2 separate regions of the Homo sapiens genome follow, and region 2 is linked to region 1. Evidence: promoter capture Hi-C in human tissues and cell types (Jung and others, 2019). All regions are on one chromosome and are shown on one strand. Each heading gives the region's core, a stretch centred on a gene start or on the middle of the fragment in contact. The rest is flanking DNA. Distances are from core to core; before and after follow the strand shown.

What was found. The method cuts DNA at HindIII sites, captures the fragments that hold promoters and counts their contacts. A contact is called where the count stands out against the background at its distance.
Region 2: a fragment that was not itself captured here is called in contact with the fragment with the promoter of CERCAM in region 1 in 1 of the 25 tissues and cell types used here (lymphoblastoid cells).

The regions. Positions count from the first base shown.
Region 1 is chr9:128,419,505-128,426,226 of GRCh38, forward strand. CERCAM (cerebral endothelial cell adhesion molecule) reads left to right here and starts at 1,353. Exons shown (of 13, transcript NM_016174.5): 1 at 1,353-1,570; 2 at 3,364-3,474; 3 at 3,642-3,759; 4 at 4,634-4,768; 5 at 4,906-5,110. The coding sequence starts at 1,374. RefSeq lists a silencer at 739-1,638 and an enhancer at 1,899-2,088. The HindIII fragment of the contact is 34,497 bases long and covers 1-6,722 here.
Region 2 is chr9:129,043,097-129,049,818 of GRCh38, forward strand. It overlaps MIGA2 (mitoguardin 2), which reads left to right. Exons shown (of 16, transcript NM_001329990.2): 4 at 5,331-5,443; 5 at 6,285-6,402. Among named protein-coding and RNA genes, the nearest start is that of MIGA2, 9.8 kb to the left of the region's middle. The HindIII fragment of the contact is 4,265 bases long and covers 1,386-5,650 here.

The sequences.
Region 1 (6,722 bases), core at 103-2,602:
CGCGGGAAAAGCTGCCAGTGCATTCATTCTCTCGAGGAATCCCTGCAAACCCTCCCAGATGGGTGGCGTTATCAGCCCGATTTTACCCGAGAGGCTCCTGAGGGAAAGGGACCTGTCTGAGGTTGGTGACAGACACCCAGTTCGATCCCATCTGTGGTGCCGCCAGGCCGCTCCCTTTTCTGCTCCTCTCCCGAGAGGCTGCAGAGTTCTTTCCCTCCCAGCAGGGTCCTAAGGACCCCGGCGGTGCTCCAGGGGAGCCAACATCCCCTGCTTTGGAGGACGGACGGGTCGGGTCGCAGTGAGCAGCTCCGTGGTGTCCCCTAGTTCTACACTCAGACCAAGAGAGGGCTGTGAGGGCTGTGCTCTTTTTTTTTTTTTCTTTTTGAGACGGAGTCTCGGTCTGTCATCCAGGCTGTAGTGCAGTGGCGCGATCTCGGCTCACTGCAACCTCCGCCTCCCGGGTTCAAGCGATTCTCCTGCCTCAGCCTCCCAAGTAGCTGGGAGTACAGGCACCCGCCACGACGCCCGGCTAATTTTTGTATTTTTAGTACAGATGGGATTTCACCATCTTGGCCAGGCTGGTCTTGAACTGATCTCAGGTGATCCTCCCGCCTCGGTCTCCCAAAGTGCCGGGATTACAGGCGTGAGCTACCACGCCCGGCCTGGCTGTGCTCTCTTAAAGGGCCGAAGCAATGCGGGTGCTGGCGACCGACGCAAGGAGGTGACGCACAGGGGACTTAAGGAGCGGACCGCCGCGGGAGGACGCGCCCAGCTCAGGGGGACTCCCTCTGCGCCCCCCACGCTGGGTCTCCGGCCCACGCGTGGCCCGGCTGGTCTGCGGAGCTAGCGCCAGGGCCGCCAGAGGGCGCCCGGGGCGGAGGATGGGGCGGGAGCCGGGGAAGCCCGGGAGGTGGTGGCCGAGTGGGCGCCGCCCCTCTGGGTCTGCGGCTCAGGTCGAAGAGTCGGCTGCGTGGGCCGGGGAATCCGGATTCCGGGGGTTCAACGCCCAGGGGTTCCATGAGCCCCTACTGTTCTCGGACGCCCGGCCGGCCCCGACGCACTCGTCCTAGCACCCCTCCCCTGTCCGGTCCTCCGGCCCCTCCGCCGTCGCCCCTCCGGGGTCCAGCCGGGCGGGGCTGCTCCAGGGTCGCGGCTGGCGCGGGTCCCCGGGCCCTGGCCCTCCGGTGCCCCGGGCCAAGGAGAGAAAACTTGAGCATCCACGCACAGGGGTGGGGAGCAGGATCCCACTCTGAGGGTGCACTGCCCCGCCCTCTCCGGGTCTGCCTCGGCCCCGCCCGGGCCCCAGGCCCCGCCCCCTCCCCTCGGCCGGCCCGAGAGCTCCGGGGGCCGCTGCAGCCGCCCAAGCGCCCGCCATGCGCGCTGCCCGCGCCGCGCCGCTGCTCCAGCTGCTGCTCCTGCTGGGGCCGTGGCTGGAGGCTGCGGGCGTTGCGGAGTCGCCGCTGCCCGCCGTGGTCCTTGCCATCCTGGCCCGCAATGCCGAACACTCGCTGCCCCACTACCTGGGCGCTCTGGAGCGGCTGGACTACCCCCGGGCCAGGATGGCCCTCTGGTGAGAGACCCGGGCATTGGCACCGAGTGGGCACCTAACCCCCAGCTTCGCAGATGGCCCCCGCCCCCGGCGGCCCTGTCTGCTCGCTCCCTGCCCAGACACCACCTAGACAGGCCCCTCCCCTCACAGACGGCCCTGCCAGCCCGAGCCGCCAGAGAGGACCCCGAGCCCCCTGCTGGGAGACGACAGACCTCTGAGGCCACAGGCCGACGCGGGACACCCACCCCTCCTTCTGGTCCCCTACTCCTTCCTCTTGGGGCCTTCCCTGGGTGTAGGTTGGGCCCAGCCAGCCCTTTTCACCCCAGCCTTCAGGGCCCAGCTCAACCCCAGTGGGACCTGTGGTTGGCTGGATTTGAAGAGGAGCAGACAGGAACCTCTGAAGTCCACTGGGGCCCAACGTGGCAGGGATCGACCACGCTGGAGGCTTCCGGGCACAGGTTGGGGGTGCCATCAGCACTGGGCTCCGGGCTGTGCAGGGGAGTCAGACCGGCCCCCCCACCGCCCCCGTGCTGGGGCCAGCTCTCTTGGTAGATCTTGGTAGAGGGGCGGGATCCTGTCAGCCAAGGGCAGTCCCCCTTCCTGGAGCCTCTCCCCTCTGGCATCTCTGTACCCCCAGGGCACTGGGATCGAAGGCCACAACCCCTGGTCTGTAGACACCAGAACAGGGAGGAGTCCCTGGCTGAGGTTGGGGGTAAACTGAGAAAAATGACAAGCCACCCTCTTCAACACACCACAGTTGGGCTGGGGGGGTGGAGCCCTGGCCTGGGGAGGCCGCCCACAATTACCACAGTTTGGGAGTTTGTTAGTTCCCACCCCTGTAAGACTTGACACGTAGTCTTCATTTCTGGGGAATTGGCTTAAAGGGGCAGCATCACCCAAAACCTGGGCACTTGGCTAAACCCCCACCTCTGTTATGGGGGCCCCTTCCCCAGGAGAGGGGAGGCTGTGCCCCATGACAGCAGAGCTTGGACCCATCTGCATTCTTAGGGACGCTTAGAGCATGGTTTGGTCCTTATTACAACCTGGGGGTGGAGGAAAGCAGCAGCTCTTCTGTCTAGTCCCCATTCAGAGAGGGACAGGGGCTGGCCTGTGGTCACACAGCCACAGGTCACATAGGTAGGTATCTGCCCACCTAACGAAGGTAACCAGGGAATGCACCAGGTGTGATCCTTAAAGTCGAGGTACTTTTCATCTTTCAAAATGCATTCGTTGGCCAGGTGTGGTGGCTCACGCCTGTAATTTCAGCACTTTGGGAGGCCGAAGTGGGCAGATCACCTGAGGTGAGGAGTTCAAGACCAGCCTGGCTAACATGGTGAAACCCCATCTCTACTAAACAAACAAAAATTAGCCGGGCATGGTGGTGCACACCTGTAATCCCAGGTACTCAGGAGGCTGAGGCAGGAGAATCACTTGAACCCGGGAGGCGGAGGTTGCAGTGAGTCGAGATCATACCACTGCACTACAGCCTGGGCGACAGAGCAAGATTCCATCTCAAAAAAAATGCATTATTCTTCTCTTATCTTTGTCCATGACATAAGCAGGACAGCTTAAGTTATAGAGGGAGGACGTGAAGCCCAGAGAAAGATGGGACTTGCCTGAGGTCACACAGCAGGTCACAGAACTGTGGTGGGGACCTGGCTGTGCTGCCTCCAGCCTCTCTGCTGTAGCACACCTACCCTTCACTGTTCCAAGGAGAGCTCGACCTCAAAGGTGTTAGTGCTTTGGGGTCAAGGCTGCCTTGGGGTTCAATCCTGTGGCTGTGCCCCCTCAGCCTTTTTTCTTCCCGTCCCCAGGTGTGCCACGGACCACAATGTGGACAACACCACAGAGATGCTGCAGGAGTGGCTGGCGGCTGTGGGCGATGACTATGCTGCTGTGGTCTGGAGGCCTGAGGGCGAGCCCAGGTGGTGATCTGAGGGGAAGGGTGCTGGGGAAGATGGAGAACAGCTGCAGCCCAGAGAGGAAAAGGGACAGCCCAGAGCCACAGCCTCCAAGCCAGGGCTCTGTCCACTGCCCTGCAGAGAGGGAGGGGCATGTACCCCATGGGAACATCTCACCTCTATCCCCTCAGGTTCTACCCAGATGAAGAGGGTCCCAAGCACTGGACCAAAGAAAGGCACCAGTTTCTGATGGAGCTGAAGCAGGAAGCCCTCACCTTTGCCAGGAACTGGGGGGCCGACTATATCCTGGTGAGGAAGTCTGGCTAGAATCGGGCTTCTGAAAGGCGGTAGTATCCGTCCCTGATAGAAATCTGGGTATAGGCTGGGTGCAGTGGCTCACGCCTATAATCCTAGCACTTTGGGAGGCCAAGGCAGGTGGATCACCTGAGGTCAGAAGTTCGAGACCAGCCTGGCCAACATGGTGATACCCCATCTCTACTAAAAATACAATAATTAGCTGGGCGTGGTCGCAGGCGCCTGTAATTCCAGCTGCTTGGGAGGCTGAGGCATGAGAATGGCATGAACCTGGGAGGTAGAGGTTGCACTGAGCTGAAATCATGCCACTGCATTCCAGCCTGGGTGACAAGAGTGAAACTCAGTCTCAAAAAAAAAAAAAAAAGAAAAAGAAATCTGAATGTGACTGACCCACCCGAAGGCTGGATCCTTCGGCAGGCTATCTGGGCCAGAGCCCAGACCAGATGTTCAGATTGGATCCCTATGTTAAAAGCTCAGACTAGGTACTAAGCCTGGACCCCTCAGATAGATCCCGTTGTATACACTTTACTGAGCCTCGATTTCTGGGCTAGAGCCCAGGGTATAAATTGAGCCTGGATCTCTGAACTAGAGCTCAGAGTAGGTGTTTGGATCCATTTTCTAAGCCAGATCCCAGATAAAGGTCTTAGATCAGTAACTCAGGTATAATCTCTGGACCCAGTCCCTGAGTCAGTGCCCCAGACTAGAGCCTTGGTCCAGAAACAGATGTACTGAGTTTGTGAGACCTCTGTAAGAGCATTCCCACTGGATCCTAGGAGCCACGCTGGGTCTCTGGCAGGACCACTCAGTGAACTCCTTGGGGGGCTGCAGCCCAGGCAGGGCTGGAGCCTGTGACGTCCCCTCCTCAAAGTTTGCAGACACAGACAACATTCTGACCAACAATCAGACTCTGCGGCTTCTCATGGGGCAGGGGCTTCCAGTGGTGGCCCCAATGCTGGACTCCCAGACCTACTACTCCAACTTCTGGTGTGGGATCACCCCCCAGGTGAGGCCGGGATGGGGGCCTTGGGTGGACTGAGGTCCTGGAAGGAGGGACGTGGAGAGCAGAGAGCCTGAGGCCTTGGGGTCTGTGGGCAGGGGCAGGGGAGCCCTCTCACAGCCCAAAGCATCCCTTTTCCCCAGGGCTACTACCGCCGCACAGCCGAGTACTTCCCCACCAAGAACCGCCAGCGCCGGGGCTGCTTCCGTGTCCCCATGGTCCACTCCACCTTCCTTGCATCCCTGCGGGCTGAAGGGGCAGACCAGCTTGCTTTCTACCCGCCACATCCCAACTACACTTGGCCTTTCGACGACATCATCGTCTTCGCCTATGCCTGCCAGGCTGCTGGTGAGGACCAGCCCTCCTTTAGCATTCCTTGGAGGCCTCTGCACATTTGCACATGCTATTCCAGCTGCTTACCATGCCCTTCCCTACTCTGCATTTCATCCTGTTAACCCATGAGTTACAACTTTGGGTCATGAGTTTTCTTTTCTCTCTCTTTTTTTTTTTTTTTGGTGTGATCTCGGCTCACTGCAAACTCTGCCTCCCGGGTTCAAATGATTTCCTGCCTCAGCTTCCCGAGTAGCTGGGATTACAGGCACCCGCCACCACACCCAGCTAATTTTTGTATTTTTAGTAGAGACGGGGTTTTGCCATGTTGGTCAGGCTGGTCTCAAAACTCCTGAGCTCAGGTGATCCACCCGCCTCGGCCTCCCAAAGTACTGGCATTACAGGTGTGAGCCACCCGCCCAGCCAGTGGTTACTTTTAAGATGAAAGGTTTTTTGTTGTTGTTGTTGTTGTTGTTTTTGGGACAGAGTCTCACTCTGTCGCCCAGGCTGGAGTGCAGTGGCCGATCTTGGCTCACTGCAAGCTCCGCCTCCCGGGTTCAAGCCATTCTCCTGCCTCAGCCTCCCGAGTAGCTGGGACTACAGGCGCCCACCACCACGCCCGGCTAATTTTTGTATTTGTAGTAGAGATGGGGTTTCACCGTGTTAACCAGGATGGTCTCGATCTCCTGACCTCGTGATCTGCCCGCCTCGGCCTCCCAAAGTGCTGGGATTACAGGCGTGAGCCACCGCGCCCAGCCAAGATGAAAGTTACTAGAAAGAGTTTGGGTATGGCCAGGCAAGGTGACTCAGACCCTAATCTCAAAGTCTTGGGAAGCTGAGGCTGGAGGGGAAATCACTTGAGCTCAGGAGTTCGAGACCAGCCTGGACAACATAGCAAGACCTCATCTCTTTTCTGCCCTTTTTTTTTTTTTGAGATGGAGTTTTGCTCTTGTTGCCCAGGCTGGAGTGCAATGGCGTGATCTTGGCTCACTGCAACCTCTGCCTTCCGGGTTCAAGCAGTTCTCCTGCCTCAGCCTCCCGAGTAGCTGGGATTACAGGCATGCACTGCCACGCCTGGGTAATTTTGTGTTTTTAGTAGAGACGGGGTTTCTCCGTGTTGGTCAGCCTCGTCTCGAACTCCTGACCTCAGGTGATCTGCCCGCCTCAGCCTCCCAAAGTGCTGAGATTACAGGCATGGGCCACTGAGCCCAGCCCAGCCTTTTTTTTTTTTTTTTTTTTTTGAGACGGAGTCTTGCTCTGTGGCTCCCAGGCTAGAGTGCAGTGGCACAATCTCAGCTCACTACAGTGTTGACCTCCCCCACCTCAGCCTCCCACGTAGCTGGGACCACAGGTGCACACCACCATGCCCAGCTAATTTTTGTATTTTTTGTAGAGATGGGGTTTTGCCGTGTTGCCCAGGCTGGTCTTGAACTCCTGGGCTCAAGTGATCTGCCCCCGCAGCCTCCCAAAGTGCTACAATTACAGGCGTGAGCCACCGCCCCCGGCTGCGAGATCCCATCTCTACAAAAAAATTTAAAAATTAACTTGGCGTGTTGGCCCACGCCTGTAGTCCCAGCTTCCTGGGAGGCTGAGGCAGGAGGATCGCTTGAGCCCAGGAGGTAGAGACTGC
Region 2 (6,722 bases), core at 2,268-4,767, 630 kb after region 1:
GGCAGGAGAATGGCGTGAACCCAGGAGGCGGAGCTTGCAGTGAGCCGAGATTGCGCCACTGCACTCCAGCCTGGGTGACAGAGCGAGACTCCGTCTCAAAAAAAAAAAAAATTTGAGGGTTAATTTGCATGCAGTAAGATTCGTACTTTTTAGCATACTATTCTGTGTCTTTGACACATAGAGTCATCCGACCACCACCATAGTTAGGAATCATTCAGCTGGTTGGAAGGTAGTGAGTTCACTCAGTCGATTGCTCACAGTCACAGATCACACTCCTTCTGTTCTCTCTTTTTTTTTTTTTTTTTTTTGAGATGGAGTCTTGCTCTGTCACCCAGTCTGCAGGGCAGTGGCACAATCTCGGTTCATTGCAGCCTCGGCCTCTTAGGTTCAAGAGATTCTCCTGCTTCAGCCTCTCGAAAAGCTGGGACTACAGGCACGTGCCACCATGCCTGGCTAATTTTTGTATTTTTAGTAGAGACGGGATTTCGCCACGTTGGCCAGGCTGCTCTCGAACTCCTGAGCTCAAGTGATCCGCCCACCTCAGCCTCCCAAAATCCTGGGATTACAGGTGTGAGCCACCGCACCCGGCCCCGGCCATCTTTCTACTCTTTTTTTTTTTTGAGACGGAGTCTCACTCTCTGTCACCCGGGCTGGAGTGCTGTGGCATGATCTTGGCTCACTGCAACCTCTGCATCCCGGGTTCAAGCGATTCTTCTGCCTCAGCCTCCGGAGTAGCTGGGACAACAGGTGCGTGCCACCAAGCCCGGCTAATTTTTTGTATTTTTAGTAGAGACAGGGTTTCACTGTATTAGCCAGGATGGCCTTGATCTCCTGAACTCGTGATCCGCCTGCCTCGGCCTCCCAAAGTGCTGGGATTACAGGCATGAGCCAACCTGCCCGGCTTTTTTTTTTTTGAGACAGAGTTTCGCTTGTGTTTCCCAGGCTGGAGTGCGGTGGTCTGGTCTCTGCTCACTGTAGCCTCTGCCTTCCGGTTTCAAGCAATTCTCCTGCCTGAGCCTCCCGAGTAGCTGGGATTACAGGTGCATGAAACCACGCCCGGCTAATTTTTGTATTTTGAGTAGAGTTGGGGTTTCACCATGTTAGCCAGGCTGGTCTCGAACTCCTGACCTCGTGATCCACCCGCCTTGGCCTCCCAAAGTGCTGGGAGCCAGGCATGAGCCACCGTGCCTGGCCCCTTCTTCTACTCTTTTTCCCAGCTTCTCACTACTACACTTAACTAGTCTTAAAAAAAAAAAAGAACTGTTCTATCGTTGTATCACTCTCTAAATGCCCTGTGTCCTTCTGTGTCAGCTCTGGTAGCCACTGCTCTATTTTGTGGCTGCTGCTGTGGTTGTAAAAACTCTTACGGCTCCTGTTAATCTTGTAATACAGACCCGGTGTTTGCTGCATTGAAGTGTTGTCTTGATCTCTTTGCAAGGCCAGGAGTTCTCATCTTGGGAGACTTGTTTTTTTTGAAACACAGTCTCACTCTGTCACCCAGGCTGGAGTGCAATGGCACAGTCTCGGCTCACTGCAACCTCCACCCCCTGGGTTTAAGCGATTCTCCTGCCTCAGCCTCCCGAGTAGCTGGAATTACAGGCATGAGCCACCACACCCAGCTAATTTCTGTATTTTTGGTAGGGATGGGGTTTCACCATGTTGGCCAGGCTGGTCTGTGTTGGCCAGGCTGGTCTGTGTTGGCCAGGCTGGTCTCAAACTCCTGGCCTCAAGAGATCTTCCCGCCTTGGCCCCCCAAAGTGCTGGGGTTATGGGTGTGAGCCGCCGTGCCCAGCTGAAACTTGTTTTAAGAAGCAAAAGTAAGGCCAGGCGCGGTGGCTCATGCTTATAATCCCAGCACTTTGGGAGGCTAAAGCAGGCGGATCCCGAGGTCAGGAGTTTGAGACCAGCCTGGCCAACACGGTGAAACCCTGTCTCTACTAAAAATACAAAAATTAGTCGGGTGTGGTGGCAGGCATCTATGGAGGTGGAGCTTGCAGTGAGCCGAGATTGTGCCACTGCACTCCAACCTGGGCGACAGAGCGAGACTCTATCTCAAAAAAAAAAAAAAAACGAAGCAAAAGTAGCCTGTGATTTCAGCACTTTGAGAGGCTGAGGTGGGCGGGTCACCTGAGGACAGCAGTTCCAGACCAGCCTGGCCAACATGGTGAAACCCCCTCTCTACTAAAAATACAAAAATTAGCCAAGCATGGGGGTGCATGCCTGTAATCCCAGCTATTTAGGAGGCTGAAGCAGAAGGATCGCTTGAACCCGGGAGGCAGAGGTTGCAGTGAGCCGAGATCACACCACTGCACTCCAGCCTGGGCTATGGAGTAAGACTCTGTCTCAAAAAAAAAAAAAAAAAAAAAAAAAAGCAAAAGTAGACCGGGTGTGGTGGCTCACACCTGTAATCCCAGCACTTTGGGAAGCCAAGTCGGGAGAATTATTGAGTCCAGGAGTTTGAGACCAGCCTGAGCAGCATAGAGAGACCCTGTCTCTATAAATAATTTTTTTTTAAAAAGAGAAAGAACATAAATTAGCTGAGTGTGGTGGCTCATACCTGTAATCCCAGCAATTTGGGAGGCAGGAGGATTGTTTGAGGCCAGGAATTCAAGACCAGCCTGGGCAACATAGAGAGTCGCTGTCTCTGTTAAAAAAATAAGAAGCAAAAGTCTCCTGTGAAAATAAATTTTAATTGTGTATTATTGTTGCAAAAGGAAAGTATTATCTTTAGAATTGGAAAAATAAGTGTTTTGTTTTTTTTTTTTTGGTTTTTTTTTAGACGGAGTCTTGCTCTGTCGCCAGGCTGGAGTGCAGTGGTGCCATCTTGGCTCACTGCAACCTCCGCCTCCCGGGTTCAAGCAATTCTCCTGCCTCAGCCTCCTGAGTAGCTGGGACTACAGGTGCGTGCCACCACGCCCAGCTAATTTTTTGTGTTTTTAGTAGAGACAGGGTTTCACCATATTGGCCAGGATGGTCTCCATCTCTTGACCTCCTGATTTGCCCGCCTCAGCCTCCCAAATTGCTGGGATTACAGGTGTGAGCCACTGCGCCCGGCCTAGAATTGGAACAAGAAGTCTTGAGACTAATATGGAAGAGGACCCTGAGAGACACTCAGGCAGCCTAATTTTGTGTCTGTCCTGGGAAACCTGGAGTCATCTGCACAGCGTTTAGCTTCTGTGCCCTGTCCCACTCTGCCTGCTCTCATTTCACCTTATTTTCCCTTCCCTACTTTTCTCACTTCTAACAAAATATTGGCCATGTATAGTGGCTTGTACCTGTAATCCCAGTACTTTGGGGCAGGTGGATCACTTGAGCCCAGGAGTTTGAGACCAGCCTGGGTGGTATGTGGAGGCCCTGTCTCTGTTTTTTTTTTTTTTTGGAGACAGAGTCTTGCCCTGTCGCCTAGGGCAGAGGGCAGTGGCACAATCTTGGCTCACTGCAACCTCCGCCTTCCAGATTCAAGCAGTTCTCATGCTTCAGCCTCCCGAGTAGCTGGGAGTGCTACCATGCCTGGCTAATTTTATGTTTTTACTAGAGACAGGGTTTCACCATTTTGACCAGGCTGGTCTCAAACTCCTGACATCAGGTGATCTGCCCACTTCGTTCTCCCAAAAGTTGGGATTACAGGTGCGTGCCACCACACCCGGCTTTCTTTGTTTTATTTTATTATTATTTTTTAATTTTTATTTACTTTTTTTTTTTGAGACAGTCTCACTCTGTTGCCCAGGTTGGAATGCAGTGGCACAATTTCAGCTCATTGCAACGTCCACCTCCCAGGATCAAGCGATTCTCCTGCCTCATCCTACCAAGTAGCTGGGATTACAGGCGTGTGCCACCACACCTGGCTAATTTTTGTATTTTTAGTAGTGACGGGGTTTCTCCATGTTGGCCAGGCTGGTCTTGAACCCCTGACCTCAGGTGATCCACCCACCTCGGCCTCCCAAAGTACTAGGATTACAGGCATGAGCCACTGTGCCCAGGCTATTTTGTTTTGTATTTTTGAGACAGAGTCTCACCCTGTCGCCCAGGCTGGAGTGGAATGGCGCAATCTTGGCTCACTGCAACCTCTGCCTCCCGGGTTCAAGGATTCTCCTCCTCAGCCTACCAAGTAGCTGGGATTACAAACAGGTGCCACCATACCTGGCTAATTTTTTGTGTTTTTAGTAGAGACAGGCTTTCACCACGTGGGCCAGGCTTCTCTCGAACTCCTAATCTCATGTGATCTGCTGACCTCAGCCTCCCAAAGTGCTGGGATTACAGGTGTGAGCCACTGTGCCCGGCCCTGTCTCTATTTTAAAAAATAACCTTTGGTGCATTTCATTAAATTTTTTTTTTTGAGACATTCTTGCTCTGTTGCCCAGGCTGGAGTGCAGTGGCACAGTCTTGGCTCACTGCAACCTCCGTGTCCCAGGTTCAAGCGATTCTCCTGCCTCAGCCTCCTGAGTAGCTGGGATTACAGGCGTGCGCCACCCCATCTGGCTAATTTGTGTATTTTTATTATAGATGGGGTTTTACCTTGTTGGCCAGGCTGATCTCGAACTCCTGACCTCAAGTGATCCACCCACCTCGGCCTCCCAAAGTGCTAGGATTACAGACATGATCCACCCAGCCCATCCTAAAAAAATTTATATATATATATGTATATATATTTGAGACAGGGTCTCACTCTGCTTCCCAGTCTGGAATGAAGTATTGCGATCATGGCTTACTGCAGCCTTGACCTCCCAGGCTCAATTGATCCCCCACCCTCAGCCTCCCAAGTAGCTGGGGCTGCAGGCCACGCCACCACACTTGGCTAATTTTTGTATTTTTTGTTGAGACAGGGTTTCGCCATGTTGCCCAGGCTGGTCTTGAACTCCTGGGCTCAAGCAGTCCTCCCCCATCTCGGCCTCCCAAAGTGCTGGGATTATAGGTGTGAGCCACCGTGCCCGGCCTTTTGTATATTTTTAAAAGTTGTCGTCTCACATCTCTTTTGCAAGGAGAATTCTAAACCATTCTCTCAATCAGCAGCCCAGAGAAGGCTAAGCAAGGAGGCGGGAAAGCAGATGGACCTCATTCTTGGCTTATCTGGCAGATCGGGACTCCTCTCCTCGGCCTGGCCCTGTGCCCTGTGGCAGGGATATGGCAGGGATGTGGTCATGAGCAGGACATGGAGGGCCCCGCGCTTTTCTCCTGAGTGCACGCCCTTGGGGCCCCTCTGTTCCCCTGACTTAGAAGGTCGGGACCGATTCCCAGATGAGGAAGAAGGGGAAGGTGGTCCAGAGTGGGGGCAGCCCGTGTAAAGGCCACAGGGGATGCCTGTGTGACGCCTGCCCTTCTGCTCCTCACAGGATACTCCAGCCGGAGAGTCCAGAGCCCCAGCAGCAAGAGCAACGACACCCTGAGTGGCATCTCTTCCATTGAGCCCAGCAAGCACTCGGGCTCCTCCCACAGTGTGGCCTCGGTGAGCAGCAGGTGCCAGGGCTCCAGGGCTCCAGGTCCGGGCTTACCCCTGCTGAGGACTCTGCCCTCAGCAAGCTTATAGACTGGTAGAGTCCATTCATTCATTCTCTCTCTCACTCCTCCACCCACGCGGGCTTTCAGGGATTGTCCCTAATCACTCACTGTGCCAGGTGTTGGTGGGAGAAAGGTGGGCTGGTGCAGAGGAGAGAAACTGATGGTCTCCTGGGGAGACCTGTACCTGTGAAAGTGCAGGTTATTCATTCATCAGCCACTGACAAGCACCTGCGTTATACCAGGGACTCTGTCAGGCACTGGAGGTGTAGAGATAAACAAGGCAGAAGCTTGGCTTCTTCTGGGGTGTGGCTTTTGGTTCATTCACTCATCCAGCAAGCAGAGTCCCAGCTATGAGCCAGGCTGGCACAGGGGCAAGCAAGAGCTGGTTCTTGTCCTGGGGCTGCCAGCCACTCGTGTGGATGAGAGGCAGGACCCTGGCACAGAATGGGTACTCTCTGTCTTCTTGTTCAAGGGGTAGAGGAGCCCCGGCATAGGGGATGGATACAGCAGTCAGGAGCAGGGCTCAGAGGGATTCCCAGGTTCCTGGGCTGGGTGTTGGTCTCAGGATTCCTTCCTGCTTTGGTGGCTTCTTTCTATGAAGCACCATCAGGCAGTTTGTGGGTCCAGGCCATTCTGAGGGTGTGGACGCTGTGGCTAGGAACAAGCTCAGGGATGGCATTTGGAGGGGGCGTGTGGCCCATGGTCAGGCAGTGGAGGAGGGCTCAGGGGGGCCCTGCAGAGAGCCCGGGAAAGCTTCACTCTTTCTTCTTGCACTGATTGGCGCCCAGATGATGGCAGTGAACTCATCCAGCCCCACAGCCGCGTGCTCGGGACTATGGGATGCCAGAGGGATGGAGGAGTCTCTGACCACCAGCGACGGCAATGCAGAGAGCCTGTACATGCAAGGTGTGGCCAGGAGGTGCCTCAGCTTCGAGGGCAGGGTGGGTGGCAGGAACAGTCCCTTCCTAGGAGCTTGGCCAGTCTTGGGTCACTTTGCCCCTCACTACCCTGCCCCAAATCCCAACTGGGTGATTTCCAGCCATTTCTGAACAAGGGACAGTGTCTAGGAACAAACCTGGTCTGAAAGAAGGCCTGGAACCTGAGCAGCCCAGGCCACACGGTCCCACCCAGTTCTTGCCCTTCAAGGCCCTCCTGCCTCCTTGATGTTCTGAGCCCCCTCTTGGGTGAGACTGTGGAGGTGCTGACCCACGCTTTTCGCCTCACCT